Regions from separate parts of the Homo sapiens genome. Here all the other regions are linked to region 3. The links are contacts of gene promoters, found by promoter capture Hi-C in blood cells and fetal thymus (Javierre and others, 2016). All regions are on one chromosome and are shown on one strand. Each heading gives the region's core, a stretch centred on a gene start or on the middle of the fragment in contact. The rest is flanking DNA. Distances are from core to core; before and after follow the strand shown.

The links. Contacts are between HindIII fragments. The CHiCAGO score rates a contact against its expected background, and 5 or more counts as called.
Region 1: a contact is called between a fragment that was not itself captured here and the fragment with the promoter of OLIG3 in region 3, in 1 of 17 cell types (non-activated CD4 T cells). The highest score is 5.9, in non-activated CD4 T cells.
Region 2: a fragment that was not itself captured here is called in contact with the fragment with the promoter of OLIG3 in region 3 in 1 of 17 cell types (naive B cells); the score reaches 5.1 in naive B cells.

What each region holds. Positions count from the first base shown.
Region 1 is chr6:137,628,796-137,632,697 of GRCh38, forward strand. No RefSeq gene overlaps it. Among named protein-coding and RNA genes, the nearest start is that of LINC03004, 35 kb to the right of the region's middle. The HindIII fragment of the contact is 2,496 bases long and covers 468-2,963 here.
Region 2 is chr6:137,266,702-137,270,162 of GRCh38, forward strand. No RefSeq gene overlaps it. Among named protein-coding and RNA genes, the nearest start is that of IFNGR1, 49 kb to the left of the region's middle. The HindIII fragment of the contact is 220 bases long and covers 1,785-2,004 here.
Region 3 is chr6:137,492,914-137,496,536 of GRCh38, forward strand. It overlaps OLIG3 (oligodendrocyte transcription factor 3), which reads right to left and starts at 1,481. Exons shown (of 1, transcript NM_175747.2): 1 at 1-1,481. The coding sequence starts at 1,257. The coding sequence ends at 439. RefSeq lists enhancers at 391-890, 2,572-3,105, 3,106-3,623. The HindIII fragment of the contact is 6,431 bases long and covers 1-3,623 here.

The sequences.
Region 1 (3,902 bases), core at 466-2,965, 140 kb after region 3:
AAGAAGATCTTTAGAAAGTTTCTCTTGTATAAGGAAAATGTAAATAGGCTCATTGTAGAGAGAACCATAGCTTTGGGCTTGTCCATGTCATGGAGTTTAAATGTCTCTATAAATAAATTACACTGTCACTATATATATATAGTAATGTGTACGTGTGTGTGTACACATTATATACACACACATATACATATATGGTCTGTGGCCTGTCAGTATGTGTGTGTATATATATGTATGTGTATGTGTATATATATATGTATGTGTATGTGTATATATATATATATACACACACACATATATACACACACACACACATATATATATATGGTCTGTGGCCTGTCAGTATGTGTGTATATATATATGTATGTGTATGTGTATATATATATATGTATGTGTATGTGTGTATATATATATATACACACACATATATACACACACACAGGCTTTATATGATAAGGCTTTATATACAAAGCTTCATTATTATTATACATATATACAGGTATCATTATACACGTATGTATGATTGTGTGTGTGTGTGTATATATATATATGTATAAAGCCTCATTATCAAGAGATATAGCAAGAACACTGGATATAATAAGACTGAGCTCACTAAAGCAAAAGGAGTCAACTGCTTAACTAGGCAAATTTTGAAAATTTCCTTCCAAATCAGTAAAAAGAGGCCCAAGACTCCATAACCAGAAATTCTGATGTTGTATTGCTTGCAACAATTAGAATAAGACGAGATCTCAAATGTATGCTACAGAGCAAGGGTCCTCAACCCCCGGGACCATGGATCCATACTGGTCTGTGGCCTGTCAGGAACAGGCCTCACAGCAAGAGGTGAGCCGTGGGTGGGTGAGCATTACCGCCTGTGCTCCACGCCTCCAGTCAGATCAGTGGGGCCATTGGATTCTCATAGGAGCATGAACCCTATTGTGAACGGCGGATCTAGGTTGCCGGCTACTTATAAGAATCTAGTGCCTGGCGATCTGAGGTGGGAACAGTTTCACCCCAAAACCATCCCCTCCCCAAACCCACTTCCACGGAAAAATTGTCTTCCACGATACTACTCCCTGGTGCCAAAAAGGTTGGGAGCCACTGCTATAGAGGGTTCTCCAAAAGACAGAAAATATTTGTATCAAAAAAAATGACTTTGCCCATGCAGGAGTAGAAAGTACTTAAAATATTGCCTCATTTTAATTCTGAAATCATTTGTTTGAGGTAGCACTTCTAGGCCTCATCTTTTTTTGCCAGAACAATGTCCAAAACCATCAGCGAGATTGAGCTAATGGGCCAGGTGCGGTACCTTATGCCTAGCACTTTGGGAGGCTGAGGCGGGCAGATCACTTGGGGTCAGGAGTTTGAGACCAGCCTGGCCAACATGGTGAAACCCTGTCTCTACCAAAATTACAAAAGCAAATGTATCCAGGCACGGCAGTGCACACCTGTAGTCCCAGCTACTCGGGAGGCTAGGCAGGAGAATCACTTGAACCCGGGAGGCAGAGGCTGCAGTGAGCTGAGACCGCACCACTGCACACCAGCCTGGGCAACAGAGCAAGGCTACATCTCAAAAAAAAAAATTGAGCTAATGAGTGTGAAAGTACTTTGCAAATTCCAAATTACTTTGTATAAGTTAGTTAGTCCTATTTCTCTTGTGCTTTGAGATTCTGACATCGTATCCTGTGGTTCATAATAACTAGATAGCTCTAGTAATTCAAAGCTACATAAAACGTGGTTATTAAGTGAAATCATTAGAAATGTGTCCAGAAAAAAATTGCATTTTCTGAAGGACAGAAAATACACGTATATCTCTCTTGGAGAGTTTCAAGTAAGGGCTGCCTTAGGGTCCCCTATTAATGAGGCCATCTCTGACCCCTTAGGTGTGGATGTTCAGTTGTTACAATGTTTCTAACACTACTCTATTAAAAAGGCCAAAAACTAACTGCACAACAGATGGGCAAGTGCCCATTATGGGCCTGCCCTGTCAGTGCACTCTGCTGCAGCTGTGGTTGGACTTGCTCCCTTGGCAATTCCTGGGCTCACAGTGGTCAGTGAAATACTTAGGCAGGACGTGGAAGGTCCTAAGGTGCTGTGACAATGCTCCAGCCTCTACTCTTGTGTCTGGATGTGAGAGGATATGGCATAGACAGCTGAAAGCCTCAGAAGACAGGTGGAGTCCAGGAAATTCCATTTGCAGCTATCTTTATCAGGGTGAGCTGCAATTGTTTGCTGTGATAGTGAGCTGAAAGCAACAGTTCTATCAGATTATTTTTTAGAGATGACTAAAGTACACTATAGAAAGGAAGTGCTCAAGATCTGTTTGCTGATGTATTGCTTGCTTCATAAAGCTACCTATTAAGAAAGACACAAAATAACGAAATAATAGCCTAAACAATGTTAAAATAGGAAGATAGAAATAGGACTTTCTCTTTCTCATTTCTAAAGTGTGTATAGAGTTCTCTTATTCTCTCTATAGCATTCAGATACCCACTGGGAAGAAAACAAAAACAAAACCAGAAACCATCATAGATATTTCACAATGAGAAAGTTTGTTACAGGGAATTGGTTTCACCAATAATGGGAAAGCTGAGAAGCCAAATAAGGAGCAGCGAGAAACAACCCAGTGCTTAGCAATACAATAGCAGCAAGCTGCTACCACCTTAGGGCTGGAAGGAAGCTGGAGTTGCAGGGTCTGATGAGCCAGAGCTGTACAGCAGGAGTTACCATAGTCAGTACTTCTGGCAGCAACTGGAGCCAGAAGTTTAATTTCCTTATATGGTAAAGCAGAGGTTGTATTGTGCGATTACCTTGACTAAGAACTATCCTCTGACAGAGTTTCCAGGTTACCTCTCTCTCTTTCTGGATGTTCTTGATAGAGACAGAATCCAGTTATATTTTCTCCACTTTGCTAGATGATGTTATGGCCATCTATCTTTTACAAATAAATGCTAGTTAATTATTTAAGCTTTAGCAGTAAGCCTGTTCTCAGATCTAATTAAACATAAGTGAAAAATAAAAGACACACAGGCATGTACTCTACAGTTTAAAGCATGAAACTTTCCCTTTTTCTGTTAGGGAAAAAGTCAATTCTCCTTGAAGTGTATGGTGGTCTACTGCAAGTTCACTTTCAGCTCTGCTCCCACTCCTCCCCTAGTCTGCTCTGAATCAGAGGGGACTCTGAAAATAAAACATAAGTATTGTTTCCTCACCCAGATACAGTGCAGGTCTTAATACCATTTCTGAAATGTGCTAACTTTGGCCCTTGCCTAGATTACTCTTAAACTCTGTAATAGAAACCAACTGGGCTGGTTTCATGGAAGACAAATTTCCATGGATGGAGGGTGGCGGGGGATGGTTTCAGGATGAAACTGTTCCACCTCAGATCATCAGGCACTAGATTCTTATAAAGAGTTGGCAACCTAGATCCCTCACATGCAGTTCACTGTAGGGCTCATGCTCCTGTGAGAATCTGATGCCCCTGCTGATCTGACAGAGCAACACAGACCAACACAGCCTAGGCCAGGGATGCCTTAGGAAGTACTTGGTTTCTTCCTGTGTCTTTCTATCTTTTTCCACTAATTCACCGGCCAAGTGAGAAAGAGTCAAGGGAGACTGGGAATTTAGTCCTCCCTGATTCATATCTGCTCCATGGCAGAGCTCTTCCCGCTCCTTCTCCCAGCAGGACACCTGCTCTATTATGTCTTTGGCTTTCCTTTTCGTAGATCAAGTCCTGAGAATTGGATGAAACAAGCTGACCAAACACGTAACCATTCATTGGAAAGTATATTAGTCCATTTTCATACTGCTGATAAAGACATACCCGAGACAGGATAATTTATAAAGAGAAGAGGTAATGGATTCACAGTTCCGTATGGCTGGGGAGGCCTCACAATCATGGTGGA
Region 2 (3,461 bases), core at 645-3,144, 230 kb before region 3:
TAGTCTGTTTTGTGTTGCTATAAAGGCGTACCTGTGGCTGGGTGGTTTGTAAGGAAAGAGGTTGAGTTAGTTCATGTTCTGCAGCCTGTGCAAGAAGCATGGTGCTGGCATCTGCTCTGCTTCTGGTGAGGACTTTTGTGCTCCATCAAAACATGGTGCAGAAGGTCAAATGGCAGGCAGGCAGGTGCAAAGATGGATCAAACCTGGGGGGCCTCTTGGCTTTAGAGCAACACACTCCCTTGGGAACTAATCCATCCCCTCAAAACCAATCCATCTCGGGACAGCATGAGAACTTACTCACTACCCTGAGAACAGCACCAAACCATTCATAACCCATGACCTGAACTCCTCCCACTGCACCCCACATCCCAACATCACCACACTGGGGATCAAATTTCAACATAATATTTGGTGGGGAACATACAAGTCATATTCAATCCATAGCAGCAGCCATCCAGATTTTAAAATAATCAACATTTTGCCCACTTGAATCACCTGTTTGCACCCCTTTTTTGTTGAAGAATTTTAAAGCAAATTCCAGGCAAAATGGCACTTACCACCTAGTATTTCAATGTGTCCCTAAAAGAGGGAAATATAACCAGTTACCACTATCACACCTAAATTCATAACAATAATTAATTAATATCTAATTCCCAGTCCATCCATATTCAAAGTTCATTGACTGTTTAATAAACTTGTTTTTTTTTTTTTTTTTTTGGACGGAGTTTTGCTCTTGTTGCCCAGGCTGGAGTGTAATGGCGTGATCTTGGCTTGCTGCAACCTCTGCCTCCCAGGTTCAAGTGATTCTCCTGTCTCAGCCTCCCGAGTAGCTGAGATTACAGGCGCCTGCCACCACGCCTGGCTAATTTTTGTATTTTTAGTAGAGACAGGGTTTCATCATATTGGTCTGGCTGGTCTCGAACTCCTGACCTCAGGTGATCCGCCCGCCTCAGCCTCCCAAAGTGCTGGGATTACAGATGTGAGCTACTGTGCCTGGCCAATAAATGTCTTTTTAAGATGATTTTTTTTTCCAAATCAAGATCCAAGCGAGACTCACATGTTACATTCAGTTGTCATGCCCCCTTGTACATCTGTAGCAAGCCCCTCTCCCCTCTTCTTTTCCCTTCCCATTGACTTAACTGAAAAAACCTGGTGTAATTGTCCCATAGAACAATGTGCATAGAATATACATTGTTCCACATTCTAGGTTTGCCTGATTACTTCCTCATGGTGACAGCATCATTCAACCAGCTCTTCTTCTTTGTATTTTTAGTAGAGACGCGGTTTCACCATGTTGGCCAGATGGTCTCGATCTCTTGACCTCGTGATCCACCCGCCTCAGCCTCCCAAAGTGATGGGATTACAGGCATGAGCCACCACACCTGGCCGAAATGTATTTCTTAAGTAATAAGATTTGAAAGTTGAAATTACTCCTTGATTCATTGGCTACAGAATGGATGTTGTGTTGAATAACATTCATCTCATTGTACATCTCTGTCAGAGCTCTTGAGTGACTAGATGCACTGTCAGTGAGTGATAATATTTGGAAAGAAATCTTTTTTTTTCTGAGCATTAAGTCTCAATAGCGGACTTAAAATATTCAGCAATTCATGCTATACACAGATGTGCTGTCATCCAGGTTTTGTTGTTCCACTTAAAGAGTGCAGGCAGAGCAGATTTAGCATAATTCTTCCTAGAGTTTTCAAAATGGCAAATGAGCATTCGCTACAATGTTAGGTCACTAGCTGCAATAGCCCCAATCAAAAGAGTCAGCTATTGCTTGAAGCTTTGAAGCCAGGCACTGACTTTTCTTCTCCAGCTATGAAAGTTCTGAAGAGCATCTTCTTCTAATATAAGACTGCTTTTTGTCCACAGACAATATGTTTCTTTTGCCCTCTTCATCAGTGATCTTAGCTGGCTTTTCTGGATAACGCTGCAGCTTCTCCATCAGCACTTGCTGCCTCACCTCGTACTTTTATGTTATGGAGATGGCTTCCTTCCTTAAGCTTCATGAGCCGACCTCTGTTAGCTCCAACTTTTCTTCTGCAGCTTACTCATCTCTCTCAGCCTTCGTAGAATTGAAGAAAGTTAGGGTGTTGCTCTGGATTAGGCTTTTGCTTAAGGGAATGTTGCGCCTGGCTTGATCTTCTATTGAGTCCACTCAAACTTTTTCCATACCAGCAATAGGGCTGTTTTACTTAGCGTTTGTGTGTCCACCCGAGTAGCACTTACTTTCCTTCAAGAACTTTTCCTTTGCATTCACAAGTTGGCTGTTTGCTGCAAAGGTCAAGTTTGGTGCAAAAGAAAAGTTCTTGGAAAGTAAAAGTGCTACTCTGCTACCTTGGTTGTCAACACGCCTTCCATGCTAAATGTAATCATTTCTAGAATTGGATTTAAAGTGAGAGATGTGTGACTTTTATTTTCACTTGAACACATAGAGACCATTGTGGAGTTACTAACTGACCTGATTTCAATATTATTGTATCTCAGGGAATAGGGAGACCTGAGAAGCAGGAGAGAGATGAGGAATGGCTGGTTGGTAGAGCAGTCATGGTAAAACATACATTTATTGATTAAGTTCATCATCTTATATGAACGTGGTTCATGGCACCCCCCAAAAACTACAATAATAGCATCAAAGATCACTGATCACAGATCACCATAATAGATAAAATATGAAAAAGTTTGAAATATTGTGATAATTGCCAAAATGTGACACAGAGACATGAGATGAGCACCTGTTGTGGAAAGTTGGCACCTATAGACTTGCTTAACACACAGCTGCCACAAAACCTCAATTTGTAAAAAACATCCGCATCTGCATAGCATCATAAAGTGAAGTGCAATAAAATAAAATATGCCTTTATTCAATGTTTTTCAACCAGTTGTAGTCATTACTGTTTTCACATCCTCAGATGTCACATTTGACAACGGAAAACCTTCAAGTGGATCTGTGTGTTCTGCTGGTATTTTCCTTGCTTTCTGGCATAAGCATGTCATAGAACCCCAAATTCAGGCTCGTGTACCCAGCATGCAGCTGAGGCCAAACCCTGACACAAAGGTGCTTGGAGATAGAGAAGGGTTTATCTGATTTGCCCAAAATGAGGTGGGAGGGCAAAAATCTCTCCAATCTACCTTAACAAAAAGAAGAGGCGGGGAGTTTTTATTTGGCTGGAGAGTAAAGGATGGGGAGTTACAGGAAATCTAGGGGAAAAAAGTCTGTTTCTTCAGTCTGAGATAACACCTTGAGCAACCAGACTTCTTGGCATCAGCAGCTGGTCACGACATCCCTCTAGGCATTCATTCTTTCTGCAAACTTTTTTTGTGACACTGGAGTTATCTCCTGCTGCTTGGCACAGGAACGGTACATCTATAGTTTATAATTACATTGTGGGAACAAGGAATTTTGGGCAAAAAGCAAGTGGTTAACATTTGCAAGCAAGCAAGGGCCTAATCAGAAT
Region 3 (3,623 bases), core at 231-2,730:
ACATTTGTTTTGCACAAAAGGGATGGCCGTCTTTTTCCAAAGCGAGAACACAGAGTCAGAGAAAGCCAACTCAAAAGTCCCTTCGCAAGTTTTTAACTACACCGATCCCATCTTTATACAACAAATGCAGTTTTGACAAGAGCATATGGCAGTGAAAAATACTGGCGCGGCATGGGGAAAAGAAGCATGCATGCAAAACACACGACATCTGGTTCGAGTCCCCCTTTGCTACCACCTAGAAATTGCGGTTTGATTTTGGTCCTTTCCCTCCGGGGGTCAAGTGGAGTCTGAGATCTCTCAGACAGCGTGGGAGGCTGCGGGCCCCGGAGCCTGCCCTCCCGTGGGCCGAGCGTGCAGCCTCCCTCTTCCCTCCCGGCCCGGCACCGCGGCCCCTCCCGCCGCTCTCCCTCCTCCTTGGCAGCCGGGCCCGCCCGCTGCTCACTTGAGCAAGTCCTTGGACTCGGCCGACAGCCGGGCCATGTTGGCTGTGGAGAGAGCGGACAGGTGCGGCGGCGGCGGCATCTGGCAGATGGTGCAGGGGCAGGGCAGACCAGCCCAGTGCTGGAAGCCGCTGCCCAGCTGCAGCGCGGGCGGCGTGGAGGGCGCCTTGAGTAGCGAGTGGGGAGGCCGGATGGTGCCGATGGCGGGAAGTGAGGCGGCGGACAGCGGTGACGAGGCGTTGCCAGATGAGAGCGCGCCGCCCAAGATGGGGTGCACCGGGTGCACGGAGTTGGCCGCGTGCGCGGGGTGGCCGGCCGAGTGGCCCACGGTCCCGCAGTGAAAGGCCGAGTGGTGGCCCCCATAGATCTCGCCAACCAGCCTCTTCATCTCCTCCAGGGAGCTGGTGAGCATGAGGATGTAGTTTCTGGCGAGCAGGAGTGTGGCGATCTTGGAGAGCTTGCGCACCGACGGCCCATGCGCGTAGGGCATGACTTCGCGCAGCCCGTCCATGGCTAGGTTCAGGTCGTGCATCCGCTTGCGTTCGCGTCCGTTGATCTTCAGCCTCAACTGCTGTAGGTCCTGCTCCGACAGCTGCTTCTTGATTTTGTACTTGCTGCTCTCTCCCGCGGCCTTGGCGCCAGCCCGCGAGAGGCTTTCCCCGGGCATCTTCTGCATCATATCGCCCTGCGTGGACGAGACCGAGTTGAGACGGCTCTCCTGGTGGTGGTGGTGGCGGTGGTGGTGGTCCCTCAGGTACATCTCATCCATGTCCGGAGATGAAGCTCTGCTGGAGACAGAGCTCGAATCAGAATTCATTTTATTACAGGGGATGCGGCCCTACCGTGGGGAGGCTTTAGGCGGGAAATTAAAGAAAATCTTGAATTAAAAAAAAAAAATCTGCACTGCCCAGGAACCCACTTCTCCGCGGCAAGACGTGAGAAGAAAAGCGGAGACGCTGCTTTTCCCCGCCTCTCTCCCTCCCACGCCCCTCTCTCTGGTTAGGCTGCTTCCTGGACAGCTAGTTGGTGTGTGCTTGAACTAACCTCACGCTGAAAAAGAGGGGCTTTTATAGAGCTGCGGCGGAGAAAAGAGACAAAAGGAGCCCTCCTATCTATCCTGGGCTGGTTAGGATGACGTGCCATCATTCAGGGCGGTGCGCTTTGCTGTCCCATTTAGCAAGGATTCCTATTCATATTCATTGTGGGGCCGCCCTGGGACACCTCTGCTCCGAACCGCTAGGAGCCCCCAGGCACAAAACCCTCTGATTGACACACTCACCGCTCCAGCTTACGCCTTCCTGATTTTTTTTTTAACTTTCTTCCACCCCACCCCCCTTCCCAATTTCTCTAACCAAATCACACATCAGGAACGGAAGGAAGGCAAGAGAAGGTGGCCAGGCGGTTGGTGGAGGTTCCTCTGAGTTTGGAGAGAGGAATTGAAACATTCGCTCTCCTTTCTTTCCTGGCTGCTCCCAAGTTTAGAGAAATATGGGCAAAAATAGGTCTCAGTGGAAAGGTTTGAGGGACAGAGGTGCGGTCGGAGGGAAGGTGCTGCCAGCGGGGGCTGGGGGTGGTGGGAAGACTGCATGCCGACTTTCTCTGTCTCAATATTTTTTTTTCATTAGATCTCTTTTCCTAAACACTTCCATTCTGTCAATTTTGTTTATTGGGCCCTTCTGGTGTGGTTTCAACGGGATGTCCATGTTCGGTGATGGCTTTGCTCCTGGCAGTATTGTGGCGGAGAGGTCTCTTATTTTCTGTGTCCTCTCTTTCGTTTTAAAACATGGATTTCTAAAAGAATTTCAGTTTTGCACAATTCTTTAACTTCCTAGACCAAAAACTGCGAAAAAAAAATGTTAATGTCACAAGAAAAGCAACTTGGGAGGATGGGAAGGAAAAGGAGCCAAGGAGGCAGAGAGAGAGATTGTTAGGTTCCTGAGAGCTCCAGAGAGATTGTTCCCACTCCAGGCTTCCTGGACCTTGGCGCTGGCGCAAAACGGTGGGACGGTCCGCGCCCGAAGCTCCGCCGGGCCTCCTCTGGCCGCTGTGCTGACGTGCCCCGAGCTCCGGGAACTCAGCGGCACCCCGGCCTGCGCGGGTGGGTCCACCAGGCTGGGGCCGCCGTACGGCGTCGGACAGGGAAATCAGAAGCTCATAATAAACTATCTGATGTCGGGGTGGTGGGGCGGGGGGGTGGGGTGCGTGGGCAAAGAAGCACGGGGGAAGGGAAACAACGAAAGGACCTAGAAAGCCCCTTGTGCGTGCCCGGGCACTGCGGTTCAGCGCAGAGTCGTTTCTGGGAATAAAGAGGAGGTCGGAGTTTGGAGCCTTCGGTGCGAGTGCGGAGGTGGGCGTAGATCTTTCTTCCCCCTTGCTGTGTTTTTGTGATCAAGACTTTAGCTCAGCAGCACGAGGGGCGGGAAGGCAGAAATCCCGGGAAGGGAGAGAGCCCCAGGAGTGGTCTCTAGAAGAACCCGGACACCGCCCCTCTCCCGGCTTGGTGGAACGGGAAACAAACGCTAGCTAGTGACTGAGAGTCTCGGTGGAAGTGTGAAATCGAATCAATCGCGGAACCTCGGGCACTTGGGGCCTCTTGCGCCGCTGAGTCACTTCGAAGAACAGGATGCCCCCCTTTCCCTTGACTCAAACCGAGCGGTCAGTGGGAGAGGGATGCGCGCCCAGGTCCGGAGTTTGCACGCTCTGAGGCTGTGCCCCACTGACAGTCACGCTGCGAAGGCAGCTCTGGCCAATACCAGAAGGATGGGCAAACGCAACATTGGCATGGATGCTTTTGCTACACCGAATTTTGTTTTTCTGTAATGGGGGAAAAATGGCCAACAGCCCTTCGTCAAGGCCAGGAAGTTAGTGCTCTTGCAGATTGGACAGGAGCCTCTTCTACCACCTTCATCTCGGTGGAAGGAAAGTTTCTTAATTCAAGAGGTTAGATTGGATGTGGAAAGACTAATGTCCAAAAGCATTCCTAATACCAAGCATAAAGAATGTTTCTTAATTCACCAGACTCGCCAATAAGATAGTGACATACACTAAGTCTTCCTGGTTATTTAAAAAAGGAGGGGAGGGGGGAAGTGCTCCAGAACTTGTGCAGTCCCAGGTGATGGGAGGAAGCTAGTGGCTAGTCCTAACGACAACCCTCTGCGACTCCCCTGCTGATCAAATGGGGTG